Regions from separate parts of the Homo sapiens genome. Here regions 2, 3, 4 and 5 are each linked to region 1. Evidence: promoter capture Hi-C in 16 types of primary human blood cells and fetal thymus (Javierre and others, 2016). All regions are on one chromosome and are shown on one strand. The core of a region is centred on a gene start or on the middle of the fragment in contact, and the rest is flanking DNA. Distances in the headings are between cores, read along the strand shown. Region 1 holds the start of PPP1R8 (protein phosphatase 1 regulatory subunit 8). Region 2 overlaps EYA3 (EYA transcriptional coactivator and phosphatase 3). Region 3 overlaps EYA3 (EYA transcriptional coactivator and phosphatase 3). Region 4 overlaps EYA3 (EYA transcriptional coactivator and phosphatase 3). Region 5 overlaps EYA3 (EYA transcriptional coactivator and phosphatase 3).

The links. Contacts are between HindIII fragments. The CHiCAGO score rates a contact against its expected background, and 5 or more counts as called.
Region 2: a fragment that was not itself captured here is called in contact with the fragment with the promoter of PPP1R8 in region 1 in 2 of 17 cell types (M1 macrophages and M2 macrophages); the score reaches 6.3 in M1 macrophages.
Region 3: a fragment that was not itself captured here is called in contact with the fragment with the promoter of PPP1R8 in region 1 in 3 of 17 cell types (M1 macrophages, M2 macrophages and M0 macrophages); the score reaches 9.3 in M1 macrophages.
Region 4: a fragment that was not itself captured here is called in contact with the fragment with the promoter of PPP1R8 in region 1 in 2 of 17 cell types (M2 macrophages and M1 macrophages); the score reaches 7.5 in M2 macrophages.
Region 5: a fragment that was not itself captured here is called in contact with the fragment with the promoter of PPP1R8 in region 1 in 4 of 17 cell types (M2 macrophages, M1 macrophages, M0 macrophages and 1 more); the score reaches 10.3 in M2 macrophages.

What each region holds. Positions count from the first base shown.
Region 1 is chr1:27,828,616-27,834,758 of GRCh38, forward strand. PPP1R8 (protein phosphatase 1 regulatory subunit 8) reads left to right here and starts at 2,167. Exons shown (of 7, transcript NM_014110.5): 1 at 2,167-2,276; 2 at 4,141-4,201. The coding sequence starts at 2,221. LOC124903885 (a long non-coding RNA gene) reads right to left here and starts at 3,168. Exons shown (of 2, transcript XR_007065562.1): 1 at 2,134-3,168; 2 at 1-206. It also overlaps SCARNA1. RefSeq lists enhancers at 1,646-2,431, 2,305-2,474, 2,432-3,216 and a silencer at 2,095-2,174. The HindIII fragment of the contact is 9,216 bases long and covers 1-4,365 here.
Region 2 is chr1:28,063,397-28,069,539 of GRCh38, forward strand. All of the region lies in intron 1 of EYA3 (EYA transcriptional coactivator and phosphatase 3), which reads right to left. Among named protein-coding and RNA genes, the nearest start is that of EYA3, 22 kb to the right of the region's middle. The HindIII fragment of the contact is 715 bases long and covers 3,217-3,931 here.
Region 3 is chr1:28,040,264-28,046,406 of GRCh38, forward strand. EYA3 (EYA transcriptional coactivator and phosphatase 3) reads right to left here. Exons shown (of 18, transcript NM_001990.4): 4 at 2,308-2,387. Among named protein-coding and RNA genes, the nearest start is that of EYA3, 45 kb to the right of the region's middle. The HindIII fragment of the contact is 2,107 bases long and covers 2,144-4,250 here.
Region 4 is chr1:28,021,864-28,028,006 of GRCh38, forward strand. It overlaps EYA3 (EYA transcriptional coactivator and phosphatase 3), which reads right to left. Exons shown (of 18, transcript NM_001990.4): 7 at 5,926-6,063. Among named protein-coding and RNA genes, the nearest start is that of EYA3, 64 kb to the right of the region's middle. The HindIII fragment of the contact is 6,282 bases long and covers 1-5,416 here.
Region 5 is chr1:27,976,303-27,982,445 of GRCh38, forward strand. It overlaps EYA3 (EYA transcriptional coactivator and phosphatase 3), which reads right to left. Exons shown (of 18, transcript NM_001990.4): 17 at 2,072-2,172. Among named protein-coding and RNA genes, the nearest start is that of XKR8, 19 kb to the left of the region's middle. The HindIII fragment of the contact is 4,618 bases long and covers 884-5,501 here.

The sequences.
Region 1 (6,143 bases), core at 917-3,416:
CTTGAGGGCTGGAGACTTCATCAAGGGCAAAAATCTTTTGAATAGGCTGATTTTCTACAGAACCAGTAGCATGGAAGCAAGAAAAGAACTACTTTCATCATAGATTCCTCAACTTGCTGAGCAGTGCCTCTTTCTGGATGAACAGGAACTTAGCAATTGATTTATTTAAAAAAGGAAAAACTGGTCAGATAATCCTCCCAACGCGTCTACAAAAGTGAAAAAGAGGGGCATCAGTTGCATGCTAATAATAAATATAATTATACCAACATCAAAGTGTAAGAGAGAATAGTGACTCATGAGCATGGCCTTCGGCATCATATAGGTTTAGGTTTTTGATCCCACTCCACTTGTTCTAGGGTGAAGCTGGGTAACTCAATCTCTCTAAGCCTCTCCTCTGGAATTATAATAATACCTAACTCAAGAGTATTGTCAGGATTAAGTGAGATGATCCATATAAAATACATACTTGCCCAGGTAACTGCTGAACAGACAATGCCATTAAAACCAGAGGCCCTCCCGTCCAGGAGGGAGGTGGGGGGGGGGTCAGCCCCCGCCCGGCCAGCCGCCCCATCCAGGAGGTGAGGGGCGCCTCTGCCCGGCCGCCCCTACTGGGAAGTGAGGAGCCCCTCTGCCCGGCCACCACCCCATCTGGGAGGTGTACCCAACAGCTCATTGAGAACGGGCCATGATGACAATGGCGGTTTTGTGGAATAGAAAAGGGGGAAAGGTGGGGAAAAGATTGAGAAATCGGATGGTTGCTGTGTCTGTGTACAAAGAAGTAGACATGGGAGACTTTTCATTTTGTTCTGTACTAAGAAAAATTCTTCTGCCTTGGGATCCTGTTGATCTATGACCTTACCCCCAACCCTGTGCTCTCTCCACTCAGGGTTAAATGGATAAAGGGCAGTGCAAGATGTGCTTTGTTAAACAGATGCTTGAAGGCAGCATGCTCATTAAGAGTCATCACCACTCCCTAATCTCAAGTACCCAGGGACACAAACACTGCGGAAGGCCACAGGGTCCTCTGCCTAGGAAAACCAGAGACCTTTGTTCACTTGTTTATCTGCTGACCTTCCCTCCACTATTGTCCTATGACCCTGCCAAATCCCCCTCTGCGAGAAACACCCAAGAATGATCAATAAAAAAATAAAAAATAAAAAACCAGAGGCCCTGCTAATGGTCTCTTAAAACCAGCTGGTGATCTAGGGCAAGCGAGCAATCCTTATGCTTCCTTGCCCTATAACCAAAAGCAAAAAATCCTTTTTAAAAAAATTAACCATTTGAGCCAAGCACAGTGATGATTTGGACCCCTGCTTTCTGACTGGACCTGCTCCTGGCTCCTGCTTGTCCAGAGTTTTCATAAACAGACTAGGTGACCCCTAATGCAGATTCCCTGACAATCTACAGGCCTAAACGTGAATTAGAAAAAAGTGAGTAGGGTGCCACTTTTTGGAGAAGGGCTGAAGAGAAACAATAATCACTCCAATCTCCGAGTTTTGCCCTTTAGCTTCTCCGCTTTGAGGGCAAAAGGCTGACGGTCTTAACCTAAACTCTGGAGGAGGATGTAGTCCCCAGATTTTTTCTTTCTTTACTTTTTTTTTTTTTTTTTTTGAGACGGAGTCTCGCTCTGTTGCCCAGGCTGGAGTGCAATGGCGCGATCTCGGCTCACTGCAACCTCTGCCTCCCGAGTGCAAGCGATTCTCCTGCCTTAGCCTCCCAAGTAGCTGGGATTACAGGCATGTGCCACTACACTCGACTAATTTTTGTATTTTTAGTAGAGACGGGGTTTCACCATGTTGGTCAGGCTGGTCTCAAACTCCCGACCTCAAGTGATCCGCCCGCCTCAGCCTCCGAAAGTGCTGGGATTACAGACGTGAGCCATCGCGCACGGCTTAGTCCCAAGATTTTAGAGCCAAGAAGCGTTTGCAGGAGGACGTAGGGAAAGACTGACTCCCCTCCCTACAAAGCCCCTTTTCCTTTGACACCTCCTGGCCAAGGAAAACCCTAACCACTGGAGACTTCCAGAGACGGCCAACTCGCACAAACGCTGAAAAAAAAAAAATCCCAAAAGCTCCTCTGTCCCCACTAGAAGCACCGCCCCCCGTACGGGCGTGCGTGAGCGTGCGTACGCACAGGCTGCTGGGATGCCGCTTTTCCCTTCTCGGTCTTCCAGTTTCCCGGCGTGCTTAGGGCGCGCCAAATGGGAGGGGGAGACGCAAGATGGCGGCAGCCGCGAACTCCGGCTCTAGCCTCCCGCTGTTCGACTGCCCAACCTGGTGAGTGGCGGGGCGGCCAGGGCTAGAGTGGCCCGGCCGGAGCTAGCCTGGGCTGGAAGGGCGGCTCTTTTTTTACTTTTCTGCTGCGAGCCGAACGGCTCAGAAACCCCGGAATGGTTGAGGAAAAACTGTTTGCTGCACCGGGCCGGGCGACGTGTTGAAGAACCGAGAGCCTGGAGCCCAGGCCCAGGAACTGAAGAAACCCGGGGTTGGGGGCTCAAAGGCGCTCACTTAGGCAGCCCCTTTGAGCGATTAGCCAGTCGCCGGAGCGCTTCGAGGCCTTGGCCCGAACTTACGCCCAACTCTTGACTGAGTGCCTGGTGCTCTCGTGGAGCATCGCATCTGGCCCCTTCCTGTACGTCCCGAGCGCGCTCGAGCCAGCCCCGGCCCCAACCCTACCTCCAAGCCCCGCATCCCTCTGTGGTTGCTGCATCCCTCGTGCGGCACTTGTCTGTCTGCCACAGAGAATACGAGGGTAGGTTAGCGCCATCCCTGCCCTCAGGGAGCTCCCAGTCTGTGGCACTAGTAGGCATTAGTAATGGTTGGCATGAACCCTTTTTATCCCTTCGAAAGTTCTTGGGAATAATGAAATAATTTAATTTGGTCTTTGAGTAGGGTACAAGTTGAATAAATATGAATTACCTTACAAGGAAACGCTTCTGAATTAAGAGTTTTTTTCTGCTGTAGCTCATCGCAGTGTATTGTTTGTTGCTTGTCTCTGTCTCCCGTTGTATTGCCATCCTCAAGGGCAAAGACTGCATCTTTGTATTCCCAGCTCCTAGGCCTGAGTCAGGCACATAGTAGGAATTCAGAAAGTATGTTTTGGATGTAACATTCCTCCTTTTTCCTGGACAAAATGGCCTTTTGTCCGGTGCATTGTCCTTTCCATAGAGGAGGGGTTGGGGCAGGATTGTGAGATGACTGTGTTGAATCTTCAGTTAGCTAGACAAGGATACGTTTTTTCATGTGCAAATCTAAAGGTTCTAGTGAGGTGGTTCTTTTTTCTAACTTCAAATTAGCAAACCCAAAAAGCAAGCAAATGTGTGGCTATTTTCTGGATCGCTTTGCACTTTTGTAGTAGTTGCTTCAGTCTACAAATTCTGTATCCATTTTGATCCCTCGCTGTATTGATTTCAAATTTGGGCCGAGATAGCAAACATAGTTAGAAAGCACTGTTTTTGAGATCACCTACCCTTTCCTTAGGATCTGGTAGGTACCAGGCACCGTTAGGTGCTTTGACATATGAGTCTCCCTTGAATGGTATGGCTGTAGGATATAGAGGAAACGTCCCCTAATCATGCTGTTGTAGAAAGACCTGTTTCAAGGGTAACATATTCATTTGGTACCTGGTTTCATGGGGCATGATTTTGAATTGCCCTAGTTCCCTAATTATGCACCTCTGATTTGGTTTCAGAGCTCAGGACAGTACTCTTTGCTTACTCTGTGATGAGACTAATCTTGATGAGCCCCAAACAGCAACTAATTTATTCGGTCTTTATATGATATTGGAGTAGGGGTGGATTTCAGATTCAAACTCCAGGTGACTAGACCACCCCAGCTATCGTACTTGCACTCTCTATGCAGTTCTTTCTCTGAGGTGAAGATCCAGTGTTAAAATATAGGTTTCTTGGTGCTGCTCTAAATACAGATCTACTAAAATCTGTTGCAGAGCAATTGAATCACTAGGGAAGTAAGTGTCAAACGTAGAATGGAGCTGTAATAACAGTGAAGTGGATGACATTTCTGCTTGAACATGAACTAATTATAGGCTGGTAGGAGAGCTGCAATGTTGAATGGGACAATGGTTGTAAATAGCATTTATAAACCCATCCTGAAAATGCTTTTTTCTATTTTTATTTTTCAGGGCAGGTAAGCCCCCTCCCGGTTTACATCTGGATGTAGTCAAAGGAGACAAACTAATTGAGGTATGGAAATACATGTCTTACTTTTTTGGCTGCCACACTAAAGATTTTTGCCAGTGACTCACTTTTCCACCCCCTCTCCTGTGCTTTGTTTTCCAGCAATGCTACTTTCTTTCATCCTGATTTTTTTTTTCTGTTAAAAGCACATGGTGACATCACACATTTAAAGCTTATGTCTACCACAGACACTCAATTTTTTGTGACTTCTCTCAAATGAAGGGTTTTAATAGGTCATGGGTCCTGTGGGCCCCAGTCAAACTGGAAGCCCTGTTAGCTTGGTTAATTCCCTCTCCCTGAGTACATGGAGTTGTGTAAACCGTGCAAGGTATGCAGTAACTGAAGAAAGTGAATGATATATATTGAGTTTAACTTCTAAGTTAATTTTAAGACATTCAGGCCCAACTCCTTATAAGAAGTATGGTAAACTAAGACATTTACTCAAAAAGATAATGGAATTGTGGTGAAATTCATTAATTGATTCTTTCAAAACATGTATTGAGTGTTTACTATGTGCCAGTTACTGTGCTTGGCATACAGATTGCAGCAGTAAGCAAAACCAACATAATTTCTGTCCTCAAGTCATCCAGTGGGAGAGACAGAATCACACCAAAAAATTACATAATTATATTTGAATTAAGTACTATAAAAGTTTAGCAGAATTCCAGCTTTTATACAAGCCTCTAGAGAGAACACCACATAGGAGTTCAAGAGAACATGAGTTTTTATTAGCTATTAGTTTGCGTAAATTTTTTATAATCCTTACGGTATTATTTATTTACCAAGAGATGGATATTAAGCCCACTATGACCATGTAGCTGTGAGTCTCCCATATTAGACCAATTTTATATTTGCTTGCTCAGCTAGAATTTAGGTTCAAGGCCCCATTATTGAATGCAGTTTTTTCATTGTGGTTTTTTGGTATTTAATAAAAATGTTGCAGTTCCACGGTTGCTAGATTGAAAAGCTATCTGAGATCTTTTGAAGGTTACTCTGTAAATATATTGTTGTCACTTTTGAGATGTTGTAGAGATAACCAGGTATTTTGCAAAGTATTAAGGCATGCACGAGTTTTAATGATTTCTCCTGTTATGAATACATCATGGACTCAGCCAGTCACAGAGAGCCCCTTTGTCATGGGTTCTTCTCTCTTAAAGATTTAAAACCTCAAGATTATTCAAAGAAATAATTTAGCTAAAATATCTGTAAAACCTTTTTTGCTATAGATTGTTCCACAGTTACAAAATATTTGTTGCTGAATAGCACAAAGCTTGAAGACATATAGGGATCTGTTTTATTACTAGAATTTAGCAAATCTTTAGTTTGCAACAGGAAGAAACAGACAGGGTTGCCTAGTCTTAATGATAACATCACATTCCTTTGTGGAATAATTGGTATTACATTTTCAAAACACTCTAACTTGCCAGACACTCCTCTGATCATTGGTGTCTATTAGCTGATAACGTTCTCTTTCGATGTTGTTAAGTGTGCTGAGTTGCCACAAAGTTGTCAAGTTACAATCCTTAGACATCACTGTATTCTTGAGAGGCGTAGACCTGAGATGTGCTTATTTTTAGATTTAAACTTGATCAGCACTTGATACTAACCGAGCTGTCTATATCCTAGCCTTGTGTCAAAGGCTTGTGATGTGTTGTGATAGCTGGGTTTAAGAAGTGCAATATTAAAACAAAAGCCATGAGTCTTTTAAGCCCAGTGTGTAAAGATACACTCTGAGTTATAACTCAGAGGCACAACTGGATAGCAGTACTGGCCATAGCTAGTCAAGAAGCTACGGCTTTAGTGACTGTTGAAAGCCAGTGCATTATTTCATTCACTTGGACAGAAGCAGCACATTGTTCAACATCTAACACATTTCCTTGGTTCTAAGACATACTGTTTTCTGTTAAAATTCCATACATTTTGGCCAGGTGCGGTGGCGGCTCACACC
Region 2 (6,143 bases), core at 2,324-4,823, 240 kb after region 1:
CCCAGGCTGGAGCACAGCGGCGTAATCTCGGCTCACCGCAACTTCCACCTCCCCAGTTTAAGCAATTCTCATGCCTCAGCCTCCCAGGTAGCTGGGATTACAGGTGTGCGCCACCACACCTGGTTAATTTTTGTAGCGATGGGGTTTTGCCATGTTGGCCAGGATGGTCCCAGACTCCTGGCCTCAAGTGATCCACCAGCCTCGGCCTCTCAAAGTGCTGGGATTACAGGTGTGAGCCACCACATCCGGCCTAAAACCTTTATTAGATATGATTTTCCAATAATAATAATGTGCAAATTTGAATTATGAATTCAAAGAGCAGTGAAGTCTGAAATTTTAAAAGGTAGAATAGGTATTAGGGAACAAAAGGTAAAGGAAGATGAGAACGTTTAATACTATTCATTATCTCCTCTGTACACAATGTTGCATATACACAACTATTTCATTTTTATCTTATTGATTTAACAATAGTGAAATCACCTTAAGCAACCTACGGTATATAGTTGGTGTCCAACTTTGGGGGGGAAGGTAGAAACATACATGATTAACATTTTTCACCCACACATTTTAGACAATTTTTTTTTTTTGGCCAAGATTTTAGCAGCAAATTCATAAATATAAGAAGTACTTTCACTCATTCAATGTTAAAACAGAAAGCCAAATAGTGTCAACAGTAGTGGCTTAATTATTGGTATACAAGAAAAACAAAACACCAATAGGTTTTCTTAATTATGCACTTTAAATATTAATATGTGCATTTATTTTTAGTTATACATTTTTCACGTTTTAGACAATAGCCTTTAATAGTTTCAAATCCATTGAGACGTTGCTTTCAATTTCAAATAATGTGTGCATACACGTATATAAAAAACAACCCAGTGTATGACTCATGTGACAGATGTTTAAGATTAACAAATGCTTATTTTTCAACATGCAGTTAGGTAGAGAGGGAAGCAAGCCATCCTCTCTCTCTCTCTCTCTCTATATATATATATATAAATATATAGAGCCTGCGAGACAGCGAGACTCTGCCTCAAAAAAAAAAAAAGAAGTGAACAAAGGTTTACTCCAATACCTACAAATTTCTTAATGAAAATTAGACAAAATTAATAATGAATATTTTGGGAGAAAGGAGAACAACAGAGGCCATTTAAGGAAAACCTGTCTACACCATTCTTTAAAACCAATAATAGTGGGAAAGATAAGAGAACTATCATTTACTGAGCATATATAATACACAAAGTTTTTAGTTTTTATTTTTTTTATTTTTTTAAGACATGAGGGTCTTATTATGTTGCCCAAGCTGGTCTCAAACTCCTGGGCTCAAGCAATCCTCCCACCTCAGCCTCCCAAGCAGCTGGGACTACAGGCATGTGCCACTGCATCCAGCTCCAAGTAATTTTTATATTCACTATCTCATCAAATTTTGTCTCCACAACTAAGACGCAGGTGGTATTATCATCCTCATGCTACAAACAAGGAAACTGGGATTCAGAGATTTAAACAATTTGTCCAAGAGTAACAGCAATAATGTTGCAGGTTGAAGTGAAAATACCTTAAATAAAGAGACTAGATAATAGTGATGATGACTGCAGATCATTGTAAATGTACTTAATTCCACTGAATTGTATACAGTAGTCTCCCCTTCCAAGGGGGGGATACACTGCAAGACCCCCAGTTGACCCCTGAACCCACAGATGGTACCCATATAGACTGTCTTTTTTCCTATACATATATACCTATGATAAATTTTAACTCAGCAGTTTTCACACACTGTGTGGCCAAAACCTGGAGTTTGAGGTGTGACAGAAAAACTAGCATGAATTTCTTTTCCTTCTTCAAAAGTTCATGGACAGAAGATTAGTTCTTACCATAGATTTTTTTTCTTTCTTTTTGAGATGGAGTCTCTCCCTGTCACCAGGCTGGAGTGCAGTGGTGAGATCTCAGCTCACTGCAACCTCCGCCTCCTGGGTTCAAGCGATTCCCCTGCCTCAGCCTCCTGAGTAGCTGGGACTACAGATGCGTGCCACCACGCCCAGCTAATTTTTGTATTTTTAGTAGAGACGGGGTTTCAGCATGTTGACCAGGATAGTCTGGATCATGATCCGCCCGCCTCGGCCTCCCAAAGTGCTGGGATTACAGGTGTGAGCCACAACACCCAGCCCTACCGTAGATCTTAACAATCTCAGCATATGATTTTTTTTCTTTCCTTATTTAGTGGAGAACTTTTACCTTTTCACTTAATGCACTTCTCTTTGGTGTATCTGTATTGCCAGCAACACTACTCTTGCTCTTCAGGGCCATTAAGTAAAATAAGAGTTACTCAGGCTGGGTGCAGTGGCTCATGCCTGTAATCCCAGCACTCTGGGAGGCCGAGGCGGGCGGATCATGAGGTCAGGAGTTCAAGGCCAGCCTGGCGAACATGGTGAAACCCCATCTCTACTAAAAATACAAAAATTAGCTGGGCATGGTGGCGCATGCCTGTAATCCCAGATACTCAAGAGGCTGAGGCAGGAGAACTGCTTGAACCAGGACCCGGGAGGCGGAGGTTGCAGTGAGCTGAGATCACGCCATTGCACTCCAGCCTGGGCAAGAGTGAAACTCTGTCTCAAAAAAAAAAAACAAAAAAGAGTTACTCGAACACACAAGTACTGCAGATACCTCAACAAATGATCTGATAACCAAGACGGCTCCTAAGTGAGTAACAGGCGGGAAGTGTCTACAACATGAATATGTTGGATAAAGGGATGATTCATGACCCAGGCAGGAAAGAGCAAAATGGAGAGAGACTTCATCACACTACTCAGATCAGTGCACAATTTTAAACTGATGAATTATTTGCCTGTGAAATTTTCCATTTAATATTTTCAGACCAAGGTTGATAGAAGGTAACTAAAACCGCCAAAAGCAAAACTACAGATGGTGGGGGTACTACCTTACTTAAAAATGGTTAAAACAGTTAATTTTATCTTACGTATATTTTACAATAAAAAATACAAAAAAAACCCTAAGAGATTAGAAATGCCAAAAAAAGATCAAATCTATAAAGTATTTAAAATATGAAATAAATGGAGAAAAAATCAGTATTTAGAAAACATTGTCAGAAAAACTGAATACCAACATGCAAAAAATATCCACATCAACATATGCTGTAAGTAATTATAAATATATTAAAAAACTAAACATTCAAAAAACTTTGGAGAAAACAGAACAGTAAGCTTATCTCACTATGGAAAAGAGATGAATTTATGGTCAATTCAAAGAAAGCATAAACAAGAATTTGACAAATCCAATTATGTAAAATAAACTTTCATGCAATGAAAAAAACAAATCTAAGATTAAAATATTATAAATTCAGGCAATATCTGCAAGAATTATGATAAATAAAACAATGTTTATAATATAAACCAAACCAATTCAACATTTCCCGATCATCTATTATTAGGGAGCAAACAATGACTAACTCATAAACCTGTCAAAGGATAAAAACAGGCAGTTTAAACCACAGAGATTCAATCGGCACTTGAGAAAAAAGACTGTCTCACTACTAATTGGAGAAATATAAATTGCAATATTCTTAAGATACGACTTCATACATATTAAGCTACCAAAAAAAATCTAAACAATAAAACCAAGTGTTATCTGGGTTATGAGAAGATAAAGACATATTCAGTCAGGCACAGCTGTAAAATCATATGTGTCTTCAGACTGTTCCTGGATAAAGTATAAAAGAGGTCATAAGATTGGCCACAGCCTAATCTGAATAATTTTTCTTAGGTGCTCACCCAAGAATTACATACAGGGGGGAAAGAAGCAAACTCTACTTTTAAAAATAGTATAAGTTTGTTGTCTACAGAAACGAAAAATGAGAAACAAACAACATGTGAACAATAAGTTTAACTACACTGTAACTGTAAACTATTTCAATACAAGCTTATTTAAAAGGTGAATACATGTTTTTATGTTAGTTTAATAATAGCTTACATATAATTTGATAAGAATCAAAAGCAGATACAAAGCTTACATTTAAAAGTATAGTAAAATGTTTAAATACATATTTTTAAATGCTTATATAAAAAATGTTCAAGACATTAAGCTAAAATTAGACACAAATTCTTCATTCTTGCCCCCAACTTTTTCCATTAGAAAAAAAATTTCAGTTTTGAGGGAAAAGCATTTCAAATCACAGTGATCTTGCCTTACCTAAAAAATCTTACCCTGTTTGTGACAACAGTATAGGCAGAAAGATTCATTTGATTTTCTGGCTGTGTCATCTCTTTCCTAAGAAGTTATTTAGACACTGTACACAAACTCAGGGTTGGTTCATTTTACAGCTCTAAGCAAAAGCAACGAACTTCCAATAGTTAAAGAATTTGCTATTGGAAGAGACTTCACATTTGGTTTCACTCTATTGGACAGACACGATTCTCTCTTGGAAATGCAAGAAAATATATAACAAAAGATGCTACAAAGGATAGAGTATCACAGATCATTAAATGTAATCCTTATTTTAAAGTTGAGGAAATTAAACAAAAGAGAAGGCACTGCCTCATGAACCTGTAAGCAGCAGAAACAGTGGTGGAATCCAAAACTCTGAACTCCCTTGTCTGAAGTTTTTTGTCCTCTTTATGTGGAATTGAGCATAAAACCCTCCCTTTTAAAATTACATTCCTTTATGCCTGTAATCCCAGCACTTTGGGAGGCTGAGGCAGGTGGATCACCTGAGGTCAGGAGTTCGAGACCAGCCTGGCCTACATGGTGAAACTCCGTCTCTACTAAAAATAAAAAAAATTAGCGTGGTGGTAGGCACCTGTAATCCCAGCTACTTGGGAGGCTGAGGCAGGAGAATCGCTTGAACCCGGGAGGTGGAGATTGCAGTGAGCCAAGATCGCACCACCGCACTCCAGCCTGGGCAACAAGAGTTAAGACTCCCATCTCAAAAAAAAAAAAAAAATTACATTCCTAATATTATTACCTTAGGCTACTTATTCCTTTTCTTTCATTACATCTCTATCCTATGTTACATTACTTTGATCTTATGATATAACATCATGTTCTTAACGTTTTTAAATATTTTAAATTTAAACTCAAAATTTCTTTTTCAATGTATGGATTGGCACTTTAAGGACCTCCTAAAAATCCAAAAATAACATTCCTTTTTTTTTTTTCTTTAGAGGAATAAAGAGCTTAGTTGAACAAAGAGCTACTTCTGAATCTGGCAGCCCTCAGAATCAGAAAAGATTCAGACTCAGAGAGCTCCCTGACATTCTTTTTATGCTACGTATTAACTCCCTGTACAGGCTAGCAAAAAAACCCACAAAAACAAATTGATTTCTCTTTATAACCGTAAGTCCTTAATTTAAAATGTACAGACTTTGATTTACTGGGTTTTTTTGTTTGTTTGTTTTTTGATTTTTTGAGACAGGGTGGAGTACAGTGTCACAATCTCACCTAGCCTGGAGTACAGTGGCACAATCCTGGGTCACTGCAACCTCCGCCTCCTGGGTTCAAGCGATTCTCATGCCTCAGCCTCTGAAGTAGCTGGGACTACAGGTGTCCACCACCATGCCTGGCTAATTTTTGTATTTTTAGTAGAAACAGGGTTTCACCATGTTGGCCAGGCTGGTCTCGAACTCCTGGTCTCAAGTGATCCGCCCGCCTTGGCCTCCCAAAGTGGGATTACAGGCTTAAGCCACAGTGCCCAGCCTGACTTACTGTTAATTAAACAGGTAATTTTATTTATTTATTTATTTATTTTTGAAACAGAGCAGTGACACAATCTCAGCTCACTGCAACCTCCACCTCCTGGGTTCAAGCAATTCTCCTGCCTCAGCCTCCCAAGTAGCTGGGACTACAGGCACATGCCACCACACTCGGCTAATTTTTCGTATTTTAGTAGAGACAGTCTCACCATGTTGCCCAGGCTGGCCTCAAACTCCTGAGCTCAAGTGATCTACCCACCTCGGCCTCCCAAACTGCTGGGATTACAGTCATGAGCCACCATGGCCGGCCAAAACAAGTAATTTTAACTGGGGCTGGGGTCAAAGTGGGAAGGGGCGGCTGAGGTAGGAGGATCCCTTGAGCCCAGGAGTAATCTGGTAATCTGGTATGTTGACCAGCCTGGACAACACAGCAAGAGACCC
Region 3 (6,143 bases), core at 1,947-4,446, 210 kb after region 1:
AGAGAATGAGGAAAACAACTAGACGGAGAGTGATACCACTTCCTAAGATGGGCAAGTTTGGGAGAAGAGTGTATGTCACGGGGGCTAAAGGAATCGAAAGTTCTTTTTTGAAGATCTTAGGTATGATTTTCCTTCCAGTAAAGATGTCAAACAGGCAGTCTGATACACAAATGAAATCAGGGGAGAAGTCAGACTGGAAATATCAATATGGAATTCATTAACCATGTACAAGATATTTAAAGTAATGTAATGGATCGGAGAATCCCAAAAGAGGAAACATGGTAGCCTAGAATTAAGCCCTGAGGCCCACCAAAGAAGGGCCATCAAAGGAGAAAGGTGGGAGGAAAAGTACTGAGAGGGAGAATGTGAGGAGAAACGTATTCTAGAATTTGCAACATGAAAATAACTAATGGCCTTGACGACAGCAGTTTCACTGGAAGAGTGAGGATAGAAGCTAAATTTGAGAGGCTGGAAAAGTGAATGGGAGGTGAAAAAGCAAGTGAGGGCAACTCTTGCAGAAGTTCTGATATGTCACAGAACAAAGAGAAGGTCCATAACTAGTAAGAGATGTGGAGCCAAGGGCGGAGGGGCAGGGGGGGGTCGGGGGAGCAGTGTTTATGTTTTAAAATGGTAAGATGTTTCTTTACTGACAGGAAGGATAAAAAGGGAAGACCGTGATGACACACAAGTGGTGGCAAGAAAACTATAGTACCAAAGTCCTTGGGGAAGGTAAAAACAGATAGCATATGAAACACAAATAATAGCCTCTATATCTGACAAGAGCAAGTATGCTGCTTACATCCTGACAAGAAGGAAATGGCTGGGTGTGGTGGCTCATGCCTGTAATCCCAGCACTTTGGGAGGCTGAGGCCGGCAGATCACTTGAGGTCAAGAGTTCGAGACCAGCCTGGCCAACATGGTGAAACCCCATCTCTACTAAAAATACAAAAATTAGCCAGGCGTGATGGTGCGTGCCTGTAATTCCAGCTATTCGGAAGGCTGAGTCAGGAAAATGGCTTGAACCTGGGAGGCAGAGGTTGCAGTGAGCGGAGATCTTGCCATTGCATTCCAGCCTGGGTGACAAGAGCGAAACTCCACCTCTAAAAAATACAAACAAACAACAACAAAAAAATACAAAAAATAGCTGGGCATGGTGGCATGCGCCTGTAATCCCAGCTACTCGGGAGGCTGAGGCAGGAGAATCACTTGAACCCGGGAGGCGGAGGTTGTAGTGAGTCGAGATTGTGCCACTGCACTCCAACCTGGGCAACAAAGCAAGACTCCATCTCAAAAAACATAAAAAAAAAAATAAAGAACAGAATGAATAGGATGACAGTCTAAAGTAAAAATAGAAAGGTAGGGGAAGGTATAGATGTAGACTTCAAATGAACCAAAGTTTTTATTTATTTTATTTTATTTTATTTTTTGTAGCGAGGAGGTCTCACTTTGTTGCCCAGGCTGATCTCAAACTCCTGGCCTCAGGTGATCCTCCTGCCTCAGACTCCCAAAGTGTTGGGATTACAGACAAGATCCACCATGCCCAGTTGAACCAAAGTATTTGAAGGAAAAAAGGAAATTATTTGGAAGGAGCAAGAATACTCAACTTACTTCCTGACCCTGAAGTATGTAAAGTATAAGATTTTAGGGAACAGGTCTTTTTCTTGGGGATGAGTGGGAAATTCAAGAAATTAGAGGAGACACTTTACAAATTAGAGTGGTTTTCCACAAAATGGACAGTTTCCCAATGGACCAGAATCACCTGGCTAACTTGTCAAAAATGCAGATTCCCTATCCACATCAGATCTACTGAATGATAATCTTTGGAGGTGAAACTAGAATTCTACATTACAAACAAGTATTCTAGATGATTCTTATGTAGGCTAAAGGTCTGAGAACCACCAGAATAGAATCACCTTTGAGGAAACACTATATAGAACTCAAGACACACCTTTTAAAAAAAAGTTACACCTTTTTAAAAAATATACATGGGAAGTATATATGGTTAAGTATAGTTGTCTCTGATTTTCTGTAAGACACTATTACCTTTAAAACATCCAATCTCAAAACAAAAATAAAATCACGGCGTGTGACTCCTTGGGTGAGTGGACTCCATGTGATCTTTTCTCAGCTGGTCTGTCAATAAAGCTTACAGGAGGGCTCAAGGATAAACACACACAAAAACAAGGATGGGAGAGCCTTCAGGATATTTTGGGACAAACAAGGCAATTACGAAAAACCAACTCTATAAGAAAAGCATTACTAGTTATAGGAATATCTGTTCAATCATGCACAGAATATGGTACTTACTTTCCTCTGACATGGGAAGGTTTGAAGCAAGGCTTGATGTTTCAGGCTTCTGATCACTGACATCTGGATTGCTTACTTGACTGGGAGAACCAAAATGAATACATTAGCCCCTGATTGATTTGCTGCATTGCTAAAAAGTGATGAGTTCAAACCCATTTCCTCCTAGGCTATATAAGTAAGAGGCAAAGTAAATCTTCGTGATATCCTTATTGTTGATTTTTAACAACTACTTGAAGAGAGCTCGGGCCAGGGCTAGTACCCTCAGCATTCTACCGCTCTTTCTTTTTTTTTTGAGATGGAGTCTCACTCTGTCACCCAGGCTCGAGTGCAGTGGCACGATCTCGGCTCACTGCAACCTCCGCCTCCTGGGTTCAAGCAATTCTCCTGCCTCAGCCTCCTGAGTAGCTGGGATTACAGGTGCATGCCACCATGCCCAGCTAATTTTTGTATTTTTAGTAGAGACGGGGTTTCACCATGTTGGTCAGGCTGGTCTTGAACTCCTGACCTTGTGATCCACCCACCTCAGCCTCCCAAAGTGCTGGGATTACAGGTGTGAGCCACCACGCCCAGTCTACTGTTCTTTCTTATATCTCTAGATCCCTTTAGTTTTTATATAATTCAGAAATTCCAGCTAAGTCACTGGCAAGTCAGATTTTTCTTTAACACCATATGGTAAAACATTGCTCTGCCACTTTTTATTATATGTTTATGGGGTACAATGTGATGTTTTGATATATAAAACACCTTTTGCTTTTTTGTGAAAAAAAAAAAAAAAACGTGAAAACACTTAAGTTCTATGCTTTTAGCAATTCTGAAATATACAATGCTATATTATTTATTACAGTCACCATTCTGTGCAACAGTGCTCTGTTACCTTGCTCCCAAAGTACCACAGGAAGGTAGGGAGACGTTTGATTTCAGACAGTGGTTCTTGATCAGCTACAAACCATAATCATATGAGAAGTGTTTTCAAATTACACGTTTGGGCCAGGTGCGGTGGCTTACACCTGTAATCCCAGCACTTTGGGAAGCTGAGGCGGGCGGATCACTTGAGATCAGGAGTTTGAGACCAGCCTGACCAACATGGTAAAACCCCGTCTCTACTAAAAATACAAAAATTAGCCAGGCGTTGTGGTGCACGCCTGTAGTCCCAGCTACTCAGGAGGCTGAGGCCTGAGAATTACCTGAACTCAGGAGGCAGAAGTTGCAGTGATTGGAGATGGCACTACTGCACTCCTGCCTAGGCGACACAGTGAGACTCTGTCTCAAAAACAAAACAAACAAACAAACAAACAAACAAAAATTATACGTTTGTTTCCAAGCGGGGGTTCTAAACCCTTAAGATTCATTCTACTATATTTCTCTTATCTCCCAGTTAAATAAAACACAAACACCTCATTTTCTATTTGTTATATAGCCAGGACTAAGCAACATCATTTTTTTTAACTTATAAGGAAAATTAAGAGAAATTGAGAATGATAAGTCACATAAACTGGGAGGACAAGTCATTATGTTAGATAGTTTAATGCTGGGGAGATTCCACAGAAATTCTGGAATGAAGATTGTTCTAACTTTCATTCTTCAAAATGTTCTCTCTTTTCCATCTCCTCTACTTTTCATTCTTCAGTTATTATGTCCCATTATAGCACAGTGGTTAGGAGTGTTGATTCTAGAGTCAGAGGCTGCTCAAGTTCATATTCTATTCTGCCAATAACTAGCCCTATGACCTTGGACAAGTCACTGAACTTATCTGTTCCCCGCTTTCTACATCCGTCAACGAGAATAAAAATGAAACCTACCTCATAGGGCTGTCAGGAGGACTAATAAGTTTACATTTAGAGCAAAGCTAGAACACAGTAAGCACACTTTAACTGTAACTGTTATTATATTACAACTTCTTCAAAGCCCAGGCATCATTCCTACATTCATGCACCCTAGAAAGAAGCTTGCTTTGTTCTTCTACTCTCTAGGGAGAGGTGGAAGACACTGTACCAGAGGTTCTATATATCTGGAAAGATAATGCTGACTAATCAAAGGTAAGAGTAGTTTCTACACAGCAAAATTGTAAAAAGAAATGTTGCTTATATAAAAAATATATAGCACAAAATTTATAAAGTTCTCGTATCATTTCTGAAACTGACTTCTAATATTCAAGTATAATAAGGGTTTTTTTTAAATGGTATATATTTTTTGTTTGGTTGGTTTTTGTTTTGTTTTTTTGAGTCAGGGTCTCACTCGGTCACCCAGGCTGGAGTGCAGTGGCTCGATCATGGCTCCTGCAGCTTTGACCTCCCGGGCTCAAGTGATCTTCCTACCTCATCCTCCGAAGTAGCTGGGACTACAGGCATGTGCCACAACACCCAGCTAATTTTTGTAATTTTTGTAGAGATAGGGTTTCATCATGTTGCCCAAGCTGGTCTCAAACTCCTGGTCTCAAGCAATCCGTCCACCTCAGCATCCAAAGTGCTGGAATTACAGGTGTGAGCCACAGTGTCCAGCTTTAATGGTATATTTTGAATGTTCAAATAATTTTTCCTCATTTGTAATTAATTTTAAAGCTAAATCCCCAAGTAAGGTTCATTTTTATCTTGTTACTCAAATGTTTATATTTTTGTAATAGAACTTAATGTACTAAGATGTGATTATGGAAATTGAAGGGTAAGGGCAAGAAATTATATGGAATAGTTGTGTCAGTTTCCCAAACTGGGTGATTTATTATAATTACCTGAATAGTTAATAAAAATAGACTTCTGGACCCCATCTCACACCTACTTACATAGAATTACCAGGGGAAGGGCATAAAACTGAACCAGAATTTTCCTGACATCAATAACTAGTTTGACTTCTACATGTACCTGGTTAAGTATGAGGTTCACTGTTATACCCACTGTTGAAGACTATTTGTAGATCTTATATTTTAGAAGTTGGTGATATTGCTATGATCCAGTATCCACTGGACCAGTTCCTAAAACCCAATGGTCCTAGAATATTATGTTATAGCAACATCCCCTACATACTCAACTGAGCATCTAGAGAATAAATAGAAACAACAGCACCAAGACAGTGAGTTAACTCTAGCACTTGTTAAATATTTAAATTATTATCCTTAGAGAAATGACATACTGCCTCAAAATATAATTATTTTCAAAGTTATATAAACATAAATTTTGCTTAACAATGAATACACCATGAAAAAACAACTGCTCTAAAATAAAATGACCAAAAAAACCCAACAACATCCAAGTCCATAAAGTGGCACAACAAATACCTCCTTCTCATTCAACAGAACTATTAACAACACAAACAACAGATGAATGGATAAAGAAAATGCGGAACAGACATACAATGGAGTATTATTGAGCCTTAAAAAGAGGAAATTCTGACACATGCTACAAATGGATAGACCTTAAAGACATCATGATGAATCACAAAAGGACAAATACTGTATGACTCCATTTCTGTGAGGTACTTAGAGCAGTCACAATCATGCAGACAGAAAGTAGAATGGTGGTTGCCAGGAGCTGGAGATGGGGGAGTGGAGAATATTGTTTAGTGAACATGGAATTTCAGTTTGGAAAGATGAATAAAGTTCTAGAGATGAATGGTAGTGATGGTTGCAAGACAAAGTGATTGTACTTAGTGCCACTAAACTGTACACTTAAAATGGTAAATTGTATATTGTGTGTATTTTATCATAGTAAAAAAATTGCTGAAGGTAAAAGAAGAGATAATTGCAGGAAAAGATGAAGGTGATGGGTTCTTTCAAACAACTGGAGAGGTTAGCCTTCGATAAGAGCAAGGGAATTTCAGAGGAAAGATAAACAATATCCAAGAGA
Region 4 (6,143 bases), core at 1,026-3,525, 190 kb after region 1:
CAAAGTGCTGGGATTACAGGCATGAGCCACCGCGCCCAGCCTAAAATCATTATTTTCTGCTAAAGGCTGACAGGTGGGTTCCTAAAACTTACTCTCATTATGTGACTAATATAACTGACAATTCCTGATCCAGTAGAAGCTGTACATATTTTGGTTAAAACTGATTGCCTAAGTGGGTCATTCGTTCACTTAATCCTTTATCAAATATTTATTGAGTGCCTACTATGTGCAAGCACTGCTCCACACAAGGAGCTTAGTAAATCAAAATAATAAAAATCTCCTAATAAAAGATTATTATTTTTTGAGACAGAGTCTCGCTCTGTCGCCCAGGCTGGAGTGCAGTGGCGCGATCTCGACTCACTGCAAGCTCCGCCTCCTGGGTTCACACCATTCTCCTGCCTCAGCCTCCCAAGTAGCTGGGACTACAAGCACCCACCACCACACCCAGATAATTTTTTGTATTTTTAGTAGAGACAGGATTTCACCATGTTAGCCAGGATGGTCTCGATCTCCTGACCTCGTGATCTGCCTGCATCCACCTCCCAAAGTGCTGGGATTACAGGTATGAGCCACCGCGCCCGGCCTAAAAGATTCTCATTGCTGGAGTGGAGATTTTCAGATCAATAAGGGACAGGGTTTAGAATGATCTATGTAATAATGGATCAGAGCTCAAGAAATCAGTAAGAATTCATGTTTAACTCAACACAGATACAGATTACGACATACAGAAATATTTATAGATATGTGTATTTACATAGGTTAGTATACCTACATATATTTGTTTGCTCTGTCAGCTGAGAAAGCCTAAAATAAATGTCACCTGACACCTCAGTAGCAATTAGCACCCCTCAAGCTCAGATCTTTTTTTTGAGACAGGGTCTCACTCTGTTACCCAGGCTGGAGTTCAGTGGTGCGATCACAGCTCACTGAGGCCTCGACCTCCTAAGGCTCAGGCGATCCTCCCACCTCAGCCTCCCCAAGTAGCTGGGACTACAGGCACGCACCACTGCACTTGGCTAATTTTTATATTTTTTGTAGAGATGGGGTTTTGCCTTGTTGCCCAGGCTGGAAGCCCAAATCTTGGTTTTGAATACCATTTTTTCCAATAAAAGGAACCAGGATTCCTTAAAAAAAATGGTTGATAATAGGACTTGAATAAGTAATATACAAGATGAGCCTGGAGCATCTTGTAGTGCCAGGAAGTAAGAAAGTGCTGGGTGGGGGGGGGGGGGAAAACCAAAAACTAAAAAAATGGGAGTATGTCAAAAGGCATAGGAGCCAACTGAAAGAGCTCCCAGTGGCCAAACTGGAACAAAATAAATAAAGTAGTATTGGATTATAACCCAAAGTATAAATTAAATATCTAGGAGTCCACAAAAAAATGACTGAATAAATCAACAAACTGGGGAGAAGAGACAAATCTGGGCAGAAGAATTCCAAATACATTATGTAGATATTCTACCCTAAAGAAGGGGCAGCATGATTCCTTAACTGTGGGCTGTACATAGTGAATTCTATCTAAAGAATACAGTACAGAAAGGGAGGAAAGAGTAACTTTATGGAGAAAACTGACAAACACTACTTCAATTAGGTAATCAAGGTCAACATCAACAGTCATAAATAATGATGATAGTATGGCACCTTGCCTTTGTGACCTTCCTCCTTAAAATCCATAACCCCAGCGTAATAATGAGAAAAACATCAGATAAATTCTCTAAGAGTGGGGCATCTTAAAATATACCTGGACCAGTACTCCTCAAAACTGTCAAGGTCATTAAAAGCAAGGAAAAGCCTGAGAAACTACAAAGTCTAGAAGAGCCTAAGGAGACATAACTAAATGTAATTTGGTATCCTGGATGGAATCCCGGAACAGAACAAGGACATCATATAAAAACACAGGAAATCTGAATAAACAACGGACTTAGTTAATAATAACATACTAATACTGGTTCACTAATTGTAACAAGTGTAATATACTAACGTAAGATGTTAATAATGGGAAACTGTGCAGGAGGAGGGATATATGGGAACTCTCTGTACTGTCTGCTCAACTTTTCTGTAAATCTAAAATTATTAATAAAAAATAAAGTCTAGGCCAGGCGCGGTGGCTCACACCTGTCATCTCAACAGTTTGGGAAGCCGAGGCAGGCGGATCACTTGAGGTGAGGAGTTTGAGACCAGCCTGGCCAACATGGTGAAACCCCATCTCTACTAAACATACAAAAATTAGTCAGGCATGGTGGCATGTGCCTGTAATCCCAGCTACTCAGGAGGCTGAGGCAGAAGATGCGCTTAAACTCGGGAGGTGGAGGTTGTATTAAGCTGAGATCACGCCACTGCACTCCAGCCTGGGTGACAGAGCAAGACTCCGTCTCAAAAAACAACAAACAAGCAAACAAACAAAAACATCTATTAATAAAAATTTTTTTAAAAATCTCCTGGTCAGAGATAGATTATTGTGTGTTACCAATGATACTAGAGTACAAAGACACTCATTAAAAGATTGAATTAGGCTGGGCGCAGTGGCTCATGCCTGTAATCCCAGCACTTTGGGAGGCCGAAGCAGGTGGATCACTTGAGGTCAGGAATTCGAGACCAGACTGGCCAACATGATGAAACCCTGTCTCTACTAAAAATACAAAAATTAGCTGGGCGTGGTGGTGGGTGCCTCTAATCCCAGCTACACGGGAGGCTGAGGCACAAGAATCCCTTGAACCCAGGAGGCAAAGGTTGTAGTGAGCCGAGAGCATGCCACTGCACTCCAGCCTGGGCGACAGAGCAAGACTCAGTCTCAAAATATATATATAATTAAAATTAATTTTGAAATTTCTGAAATTAATTTTGCCACTTGAATATTATTTAACCAATTAAAACATCTCAGCTGAAGAAAATGACCAAAGATAGGGCCACATAGTCACAAGATACTCTAGGAAAAGGATGATACTACAGAAGTCAGATCTACTCATTCAAAACATTTTTATGAGCAAACAAAGGCAGTCTCTTCTCATTATGGTACCACTGAAGTACAAACTAAAGAAAAGGTTCTGCTTAGAGTTAATCAAGCCAGAAGCAGATTAGGTTTTTGAGATAATTTCCCTAACTCCCCCAGGGAGGATGGGCTGCTGTCAACTGCAGAATGCTTGGGGTGTTTTGAACACTTAAAAAAATTGGGTAGTTATGCAGGGGGAAAGAAACAGCCCTGGATAGCTAACATTCACTATCCATGCTAAAAGGAAAGGGAAAAGTAGGAGCGAGGAGAGTAATATTGATAGTGGTGAACTTAAGTAATTTAATACCAATAATACCCACGTTTCATTTTAGCCCATTGTTTTCCTAACAATTTTTTCATCAGAATAAATGGCAAAAATTGATAACTTAATGGTTAACTTCTGCCTTAATTTCTACCCTGTGCTAATGAACAATAAAATGGGCCAATAGATTAACCACAAAAAGGGAGGAGAAGTGAATTTAGATATTTGTTAGCAAAGGTTCTCAATTATGGGAGAGTTGATATTGATACTATGACCTCAATACTGAAAAGCATAAATATTGTACTCATGCTCTGGAGTCAGAATGCCCAGCTAATGTCCTGCCTTAATTATTTGCTAATACTGTGACTATGGATAAGCTACTTAGCTTTTCTGTGCCTCAGGCTCTCCCTCTCTAAAATGAGGTTTGGGTTGTTGTGAGGATTACGTGTGCAACATCTATCCACTGCTTAGAAAAATGTCAAGAGCACAGTAAGCACTTCATAAATACCTGCAATTGTCATTAATAGCAAAATGAAGGAAACCGGGTTAGCCAATCCAAAGGAAAAAATGTTCTAACAGATAACAAATAAGAATGGTGGTTAGTGAAGTTTAAGGGATATTTTCATGACTCTTCCATTTTTTTAAATTTCTATTTATTTTTTTGAGACAGAGTCTCACTCTTGTTGCTCAGGCTGGAGTACAATGGCACAGTCTCGGCTCACTGCAACCTCCGCCTCACAGGTTCAAGCGATTCTCATACCTCGGCCTCCCGAGTAGCTGGGATACAGGCATGCGCCACCACACCCGGCTACTTTTGTATTTTTAGTAGAGACGGGGTTTCTCCATGTTGGTCAGGCTGGTCTCCAACTCCCAACCTCAGGTGATCCGCCTGCCTCGGCCTCCCAAAGTGCTAGGATTACAGGCGTGAGCCACCACGCCCAGCCTCATGACTCTTAAAGCAATGGGTCCTAACAGACCCCAAAGAGGTGATTCCTCTTGTTTTACAAGGGAGAAATAAGCACAGCTATCACATTCCTCAAATTCTAGACATAACTACAGAGGAATGGTGGTTTTACATTTTGGTAGAGCATTAAGAGAACCCTTGGTCTTCTTTCACAACCTAGGTGTAAGTTATCAGATATACCTGTTTAGAAGAGACTTGGCAACTAGACTTACCTGTGGTTGAACCCAAAAGGCCTATCAACATAGAGAAATACTAGGCCAGGTGTGGTGGCTCACATCTATAATTTCAACACTTTGGGAAGCTGGGGTGGGAGGATTGCTGGAGCCCAGGAGTTCAAGACCAGCCTGGGCAATATAGTGAGATCCCACCTCTAAAAAAATATAGAATACATTAGCTGGGTGTGGTGGTGTGCACCTGCAGTCCCAGCTACTGGAGAGGCTGAGGTGAGAGGATCACTTTAGCCCGGAAGGTGAAGGCTGCAGTGAGCCATGATCGCGCCACTGCATTCCAGCTGGGCAACAGAGTGAGACTCTGTCACAAAACAAAACAAAAAACCATAGAGAAATACTCTATAAAAATGAAAGGGAGTGGTGGAGAAGACAGGCAAAGCCATTCTTTCAAGTTTCTCCCTCCTGGTTTGTTCCCATCTTAGAAAGAAAGAAGGGGGAGAGGACAAGGGGAGAAAAAAAAAAAAGAAGAGGAAACAAGTGAAGAAAAGAGGAGACTTGGTAAACAACAGGAGGTAAAGGTAGCTCAGAGTAAGGTCTCAGAACATAGAGACCAGTTCTGTTTCCACTAGACCAAGGAGAAGTAGTTTTCAAACATTTCTGAAAACAGTTAAAACTGAAAATCAAAATCTAATTAACCTATATTAAAACTTTTTTTCATCACCAAAGTTTATACATTAAGAGTACTTCAGATAGGTTTTTGAGGTCCCATACTAATCCCTCTACTATCTATTTTATAAGAAATAAAATTTAAAAGCTGGGAAATATCAGGAGAAAAGAGGCAGATGAGAAGCCAGGTACAAGGATACTAGTCCCAGTCTGAAGCAATGACAAATTGCCTGCCCTGGATTTGGAAGAATAGGCAATTAACTCCATAGTGCCTTTTGAGTTTTTTGTTTTCTTTCCTAATAGTCCTGTCATAATTCTAACTCTGTTAGAGGAAGAACTTGGAAGGTAAAGATGTTTAGAGCTTAAGCTTTAATACTATGCTTTTTATCCTGAAAGAGAAATAAGAATGAACTTCTTGAGCAAGAGAAATGCTCTCATCAAGTAGTAAATGGGGTATAAGTGTGACAAAAGACACAGCAGAAAAGCAGCACACACCTCACATACTGCTATGACAATTCATACAGGTCAGCAAAATTCCAACCCATGGAGTCTTCTGCTCATTTATAGGACAAAATGCCACTGAAAATAGACTAGAACAAAATCAAGGCGTTTTCTGGACACCAACATGCAAAAGGGAAGGCTTCAATTCTATTAAGCAGCTCACATTCAAAGGCTAAACTACTTATAAACCACACTCCTAAGCTGTGGTTTGCCTAACACAAAAAGCATGCACAAATCCAAGTATCACCCCCTTTCTACTTTAGAAGACAGAGCTCCTGTATTATCCAATTTGTTTGTTTGGAGATACAGGTAGATTAAAAACAAGAAACAATAATAATAATTTTAAAACACACACACAACCATGCCTATTTACCTTGAATGGGATAAGAATAATGTGCTGGGCTTGGCTGGCTTGTGGTTAACCCTGTAGTGCAGGTAAGAACACTGTGTTGACTTGGAGATGGAGTCTGAATTAAACCACTTTCAGGTTTCATACCTGGCCACAATGCACCTGAATCAGATAAATTGGACCAATTACAAACAATACACTGGGACTGAGGAGCATGGTTATGCTTTCAAATATCAGCCAGT
Region 5 (6,143 bases), core at 1,943-4,442, 150 kb after region 1:
TACAAAAATTAGCTGGGAGTGGTGGTGTGCACCTGTAGTCCCAGCTACTTGGGAGGCTGAGGTACGAGAATCGCTTGAACCCAGGAGGCGGAGGCTGCAGTGAGCCAAGATCATGCCACTGCACTCCAGCCTGGGCGATGGAGTGAGACTCCATCTCAAAAACAAAACAAAACAAAAAAAAGAATGCCAGACTAGTATGTGAAGGTAGAGAAATTTTTGCTCAGTGGAAGGGGGAACACCCTAACAGCTTGGTTGATCCCACGGTGGAATAGGCTACTGGGAACCAGTGTCCTCATCCTTGGGCATATTCAAGCAAGGACTAGAGAGACTTCTGTCAGAAAGGCTGCAGAAAATATCCTTCACAGAGTATAGGTTGAACTGGATAAAGTGCTAAGGCATTTTCCAATTGGTATATACTTTGTTTGTTTTTTTTGAGACAGGGTCTTGTTCTGTTGCCCAGGCTGGAGTGCAGTGGCACGATCTCGGCTCACTGCAACCTCCGCCTTCAGGGTTCAAGCAATTCTTGTGCCTCAGCCTCCCGAGTAGCTGGGATTACAGGAGTGCACCACCATGCCCGGCTAATTTTTATATTTTTAGTAGAGACGGGATTTCACCATGTTGGCCAGGCTAGTCTCGAACTCCTGACCTCAGGTGATTTGCCTGCCTCAGCCTCCCCAAGTGCTAGGATTATAGGCATGAGCCACCGTGCCCAGCCTCAATGGATGTATTCTGTTGTAGATGATTAAAGACATTAGCTCAGAGTTACCAACTCTGCTGATGAGTTGTTCTCTCCCCCATACCCTTCTTCAGACCAGGAAACATTGATGCCTACACCCACTAGTGTCTTTCCCAAAGAGGGCAACAAGAAGCACTTTAGAATCAAAGCTTCATAACATATGTGAAAAAATAAGGATCCCTGAATTGCTACATAAAGTGACAAATGAAAACATGAGATAATAATGCCAACTGATTACCAATCTCATAGTTTATTATAGTTGCTAAGGTTTCCACTTAACTGGATGAAGAGTATCAGGGCAGTTGGTTCTAGCTGGCAACCCAATGCCTCCATGTCTAAGAAATAGAGTTGCTGGAAGAAAATAAATTGGGATAGGGAGGGAAAGAACTTCTACAGATCCATTTAGCAGATGAGGATACTCAAAGAGGATAATTGTTCAAATTCACATAGCTGAGACACAGATGGGATTTTAAGTTCTATAGCCAAGACTCTTTCATCTATTGTTTCCTATATTAAGAAGGGGTGACCTGGGCCAGGCGTGGTGGCTCAAACCTGTAATCCCAGCACTTTGGGAGGCCGAGGCAGGCGGATCACAAGGTCAGGAGTTCGAGACCAGCCTGGCCAATACGGGAAACCCCGTCTCTACTAAAAATACAAAAATTAGTTGGGCATGGTGGCGGGTGCCTGTAGTCCCAGCCACTTGGGAGGCTGAGGAAGGAAAATTGCTTGAACCCAGGAGGCGGAGGTTGCAGTGAGCCAAGACTGTGCCACTGCATTCCAGCCTGGGAGATAGAGTGAGACTCTATCTCAAAAACAGAAAAAAAAAGAAAAAAGAAAAAAAGAAGGGGTGACCTGAAGTTGGGACCTGTATAGTGGTGGGGTTAACATCAGAACAATCTTTCCAGGGCTCAAAGGCAGGAAAGACTTTCTCTACAGAAACAGCTATTGGTTGTACTGTCTGAGAACTTGAAGCATGGAAAAGAAAGAATGATTAGCCTTTTTGCAGTCAAGTCTGATGCTTGAGAAGGCACTGTCTTTGAAGATGGAAGATGGGGCACATCTCAGGTTTAATGATGGGATCCCTGTAGAAGGGCTTAAAGATTTTAAGATTCTTGAGTGACAGGGAGGAAGAGGAAGGGATGGATCTAAAAACTTAAGAGGAAAAACTCCATCTGGAGAAAAAAAAGACCCTCTTTTTCTTTAAAGAAAAATGGGAGAGGAAGAAAGAGAAAATATTATAAATGCATAATAGATTGCTAAGATTTTGTAGTTTTTCCCATTTTTCTCATTACTCGATGTACAACCACATAGACTATTTTTCTTTACCATGGTTACCTGTTTGGCTGCAATTTCTTCATCTCGTCCATCTCCAATCACTACATATGTGACTTTCTTTCCAAACCTTGACACAATTCTCTCAAAGCAGCTCTCCTTACCTGATGAGAAAAAGAAATTTCCTGTTAGAATACTCTTCTCTTCTTTTCAAAACCAAAGAAGAGGGCTGCTGCTAGGTTCACCTGCCTGTGCTTAGGTGGACTAAGTGACAGCCCATGTAGTTTGCTTGCTGGGGAGTAGGGATGGGAGCTAGAGATCCAGTAGACCCTCTGCCCAAAGAATGTGAAGTTGTGCCATTAAAATAACTTGGCCGGGCATGGTGGCTCAAGCCTGTAATCCCAGCACTTTGGGAGACCGAGGCGGGCGAATCACCTGAGGTCGGGAATTTGAGACCAGCCTGACCAACATGGAGAAACCCCGTCTCTACTAAAAAACAAAATTAGCTGGGCATGGCGGCGCGTGCCTGTAATCCCAGCTACTGGGGAGGCTGAGGCAGGAGAATCGCTTGAACCCGGGAGGCGGAGGTTGCAGTGAGCCGAGATCATGCCATCGCACTCCAGCCTGGGCAACAAGAGCGAACTCTGTCTCAAAACAAACAAACAAACAACCCAAAAACTTATTTTAACCTTCACGTTGAGGGTGAAGTCCCTAAGATCTTAGTGTGAGGGAATTTCTATAAATGGGAAAGATTAATAGGTTTAGTGACTTGCCCCTAGATCACAAACAAGCAAGTAGCTAGAACTTGGGGCCCCTGACTCCAAATCTAGGCTCTGGTCATTGTGTCATAATGAATGAATGATTTTTGGGGTGAAATGTTTTAGGGTAGAAAAGAGAAGTGAAAACACAAGGCCCTGATTTCTTGTTAGAAACAATAACAAACAAAAAGCCATTTCCCTCCAATTCTTCATTTCCCAGAAACAGTCCTGGGTATAGGCCTTACGTCTTTCAGTGAGAGAACAGCCCCAGAATAGAACTGAGAACAGTGACCAATAAATATGGCATCAACATTTGTCATATCTGGAACCTCCTTACTTACTATACCTTGTAGTTGTAACCAAGATACTGCATCACTGAAATTGACCTTGGGAAATGGGTGATTTAAATCCATTTCTCAGAACTGCAGACAGTTTTGAGAAACATGGCAGTGTATCAAAACTCAAATCCCATCTGCAACCAACACCTAAAACATACACAGATCATACTGCTGTGGGAAAGATACTTTATTTGTATAAATAAAAAGAAGTTATATCCCTTGCTCTTTTTATCTCCCTGCTTCTGCCACCTTCTTCAGTTAAACAAGGTCCTAACTTTGGCTTTCTTCTTCATCCTGCTCTATTAACCTTCTTGTTCTTTCCCCTTGCCCAACAGAGTGACTTAGCACCAGGGTTCCTGTGTAAATAAGATAAAGCTGCCTCTTCCTCAAGACATTTGACTGCCATCTGCTGGAAAATCACTGTAATATATAAATATACAAATCTAAGATAACTGTAACATAATTGGCCAGAACTTATACTTCCATACGCAGAAGTCCTACTTGGCACAGAAGTTGTGCAGATATGTAACTGCAAATCTTTGACATCCTTAACCCAGTGGCACTTCAAAACAGACGGACTAGTCAACTGGACCAGACACTAGATCACTCTGGGCTCAGCTGGCCACTTACAATACAAGGCTTGGCTTAGGTGCACTTGGGTCTCTTTTAGTGCTAATATTTTACAATAGAATTGTCATGCCTTACATTCATATGAGGGATTCAATCAATGTTTGCTGAGTAAATTCATATTAATCTCACAAATGATTCAGTGGAGGACTGTAGTCCAGGTCTTATGCCTCAATTCAGTTCAAACATTAAACCATTCAACTAATAATAAATTCTTATTATGTTCATGGTGTTGAAGAGTTCTTTAATTCCATTTCACCCATTACAGCTTTACAAACTAAGCCAACCTCCACCAGATGCACAGTCTACTATGATCTGTCTGTAGCAAAAAACTTTTTTAAGTGAGTCAGTTTGACTTTCTTGTAAGACTCAACAAAGGCAGTAACTCATATTTTGAGGATAAGAACACAGACATTTTCACTGTCCTGGCATGCAATGATCAAGGATGAAATATACTCTGTAATGTCTCCTTTAAAAGGATTAAGAGGCCAAGAGAGTTATTAACAGCTCAAAGTAAAGAAGCAGCTCCATGAAAACAGGACTCACTCCAATACAGTTGGTAAAATACTTCCATTTCTGGATATGAGCTTTCCTGTTCAGGAGGATGAGGCCAATGATTAATCAGTTTACCATATGTCAAGCAATTGAAGCTGGTGAACTGTAAGATCAGCCAAATCTTTGGAGAATATTAGTCCCTGGGTTTTCTCTATTAAAATATTTCTAGCCAGGAGCGGTGGCTCAAGTCTGCAATCCCAGCACTTTGGGAGGCCTAAGGCAGGAGGATTACTTGAGCACAAGAGTTTGAGATTAGCTTGGGCAACACAGTGGGACCTTTTCCCTACAAAAAATTAAAAAATTAGCTGGGTATGGTGGTGGAACACGCCTGAAGTCCTGGCTACTCAGGAGGCTGATGTGGGTGGATCGCTTGAGCGTGGGAAGGTTAAGGTTGCAATGGGCTATAATCGTGCCACTGCACTCCAGCCTAGGTACCAGAGTGAGACCCTGTCTCAAGAAAACCCCCCAAAACAAAAAAAACTTCTGACATTTTCAGAAATTATTTTGAGAATTCTCTTTAATGTCCCCAAATCACAGAATGGCCATTAAGAGAACCATATTTTGCTATCATTTCAGAGGAAGTGAAAAAGTATTTCTTCTCCTTGCTCCCATTTCACAGTTCTGTGAAGAAAAGCCTCAAGCCTCCTACTGTGGTTACCATAGCACCAGATCCCACTGCAGCTTTGCAAATTAGCTCTGGATGAACTGAGACTGAGGAAAAATACCAAATAAGCACACTTACTGACAGAGGGAATGAGATCATTTCCATTAGCCTGATGAGCCTGCGGGTGCCAGGTCTCAGTATAATAAGCACTACAGAAAATCTGTCTTTCAGATGTGGGAGGCTCAGTGAGTGCTCTGGGTTCCTATGATATACATAAAGCAACCGGCAGCAGGAACAATATCTGAAGGGAGCGCTTTCATATATGTTCCCTTCCACCCAATCCCTTGTAAATGAAATAATTCAACCATACAAAAAAGCATGGAGAATTACCAGCCTTGACAACAAAGTGAGACCCCATTTCTACAAAAAATAGGAAAAGTTAGGCATGGCGGTGTGCATCTATAATCCCAAGCTACTCGAAAAGCTGAGGTGGGAGGGTTGCTTGAGCCAGGGAGGTCGAGGCTGTAGTGAGTCGTGATCACTGAACTCTAGCCTGGTGAGACCCTGTCTCAAAAAAAAAAAAAAAAGAAAAAAATGCCTACCACCAACGAAGCTTTGTAAAATCTTAACACTTCACAGTTGCTGTATTTATTTACTTATTTATGAGACAAAGTCTTGCTATGCCATCCAGGCTGAAGTACAGTGGCACAATCATAGCTCACTGCAGCCTCAAACTTGTGGGCTGAAGTGCTCCTCCCACCTTAGCCTCCAGAGTACCTAGGATTGTAGGTACAAGCCATCACACCTGGCTAATTTTTTTTTTTTTTTTTTTGAGACAGAGTCTTTCTCTGTTGCCCAGACTGGAGTGCAGTGGCGTGATCTTGGCTCACTGCAACCTCCGCCTCCCAGGCGCAAGCAATTCTCGTGCCTCAGCCTCCTAAGTAGCCAGGACTACAGGTGCCCGCCACCATGCCCAGCTAATTTTAGTAGAGACTGGGTTTCACCGTGATGCCCAGGGTGGTCTTGAACTCCTGAGCTCAGGCAATCCACCTGCCTCGGCCTCCCAAAGTGCTAGGATTACAGGCATGAGCCACGGCTCCTGGCCACACCTGGCTAATTAAAAAAATTTTTTTTGTAGAGATGGGGTCTGACTATGTTGTCCAGGCTGATCTCAAACTCCTGGTCTCAAGTGATTCTCCCACCTCAGCCACCCAAAGCCCTGGGATGACAGGCGTGAGCCACTCCACCTGACC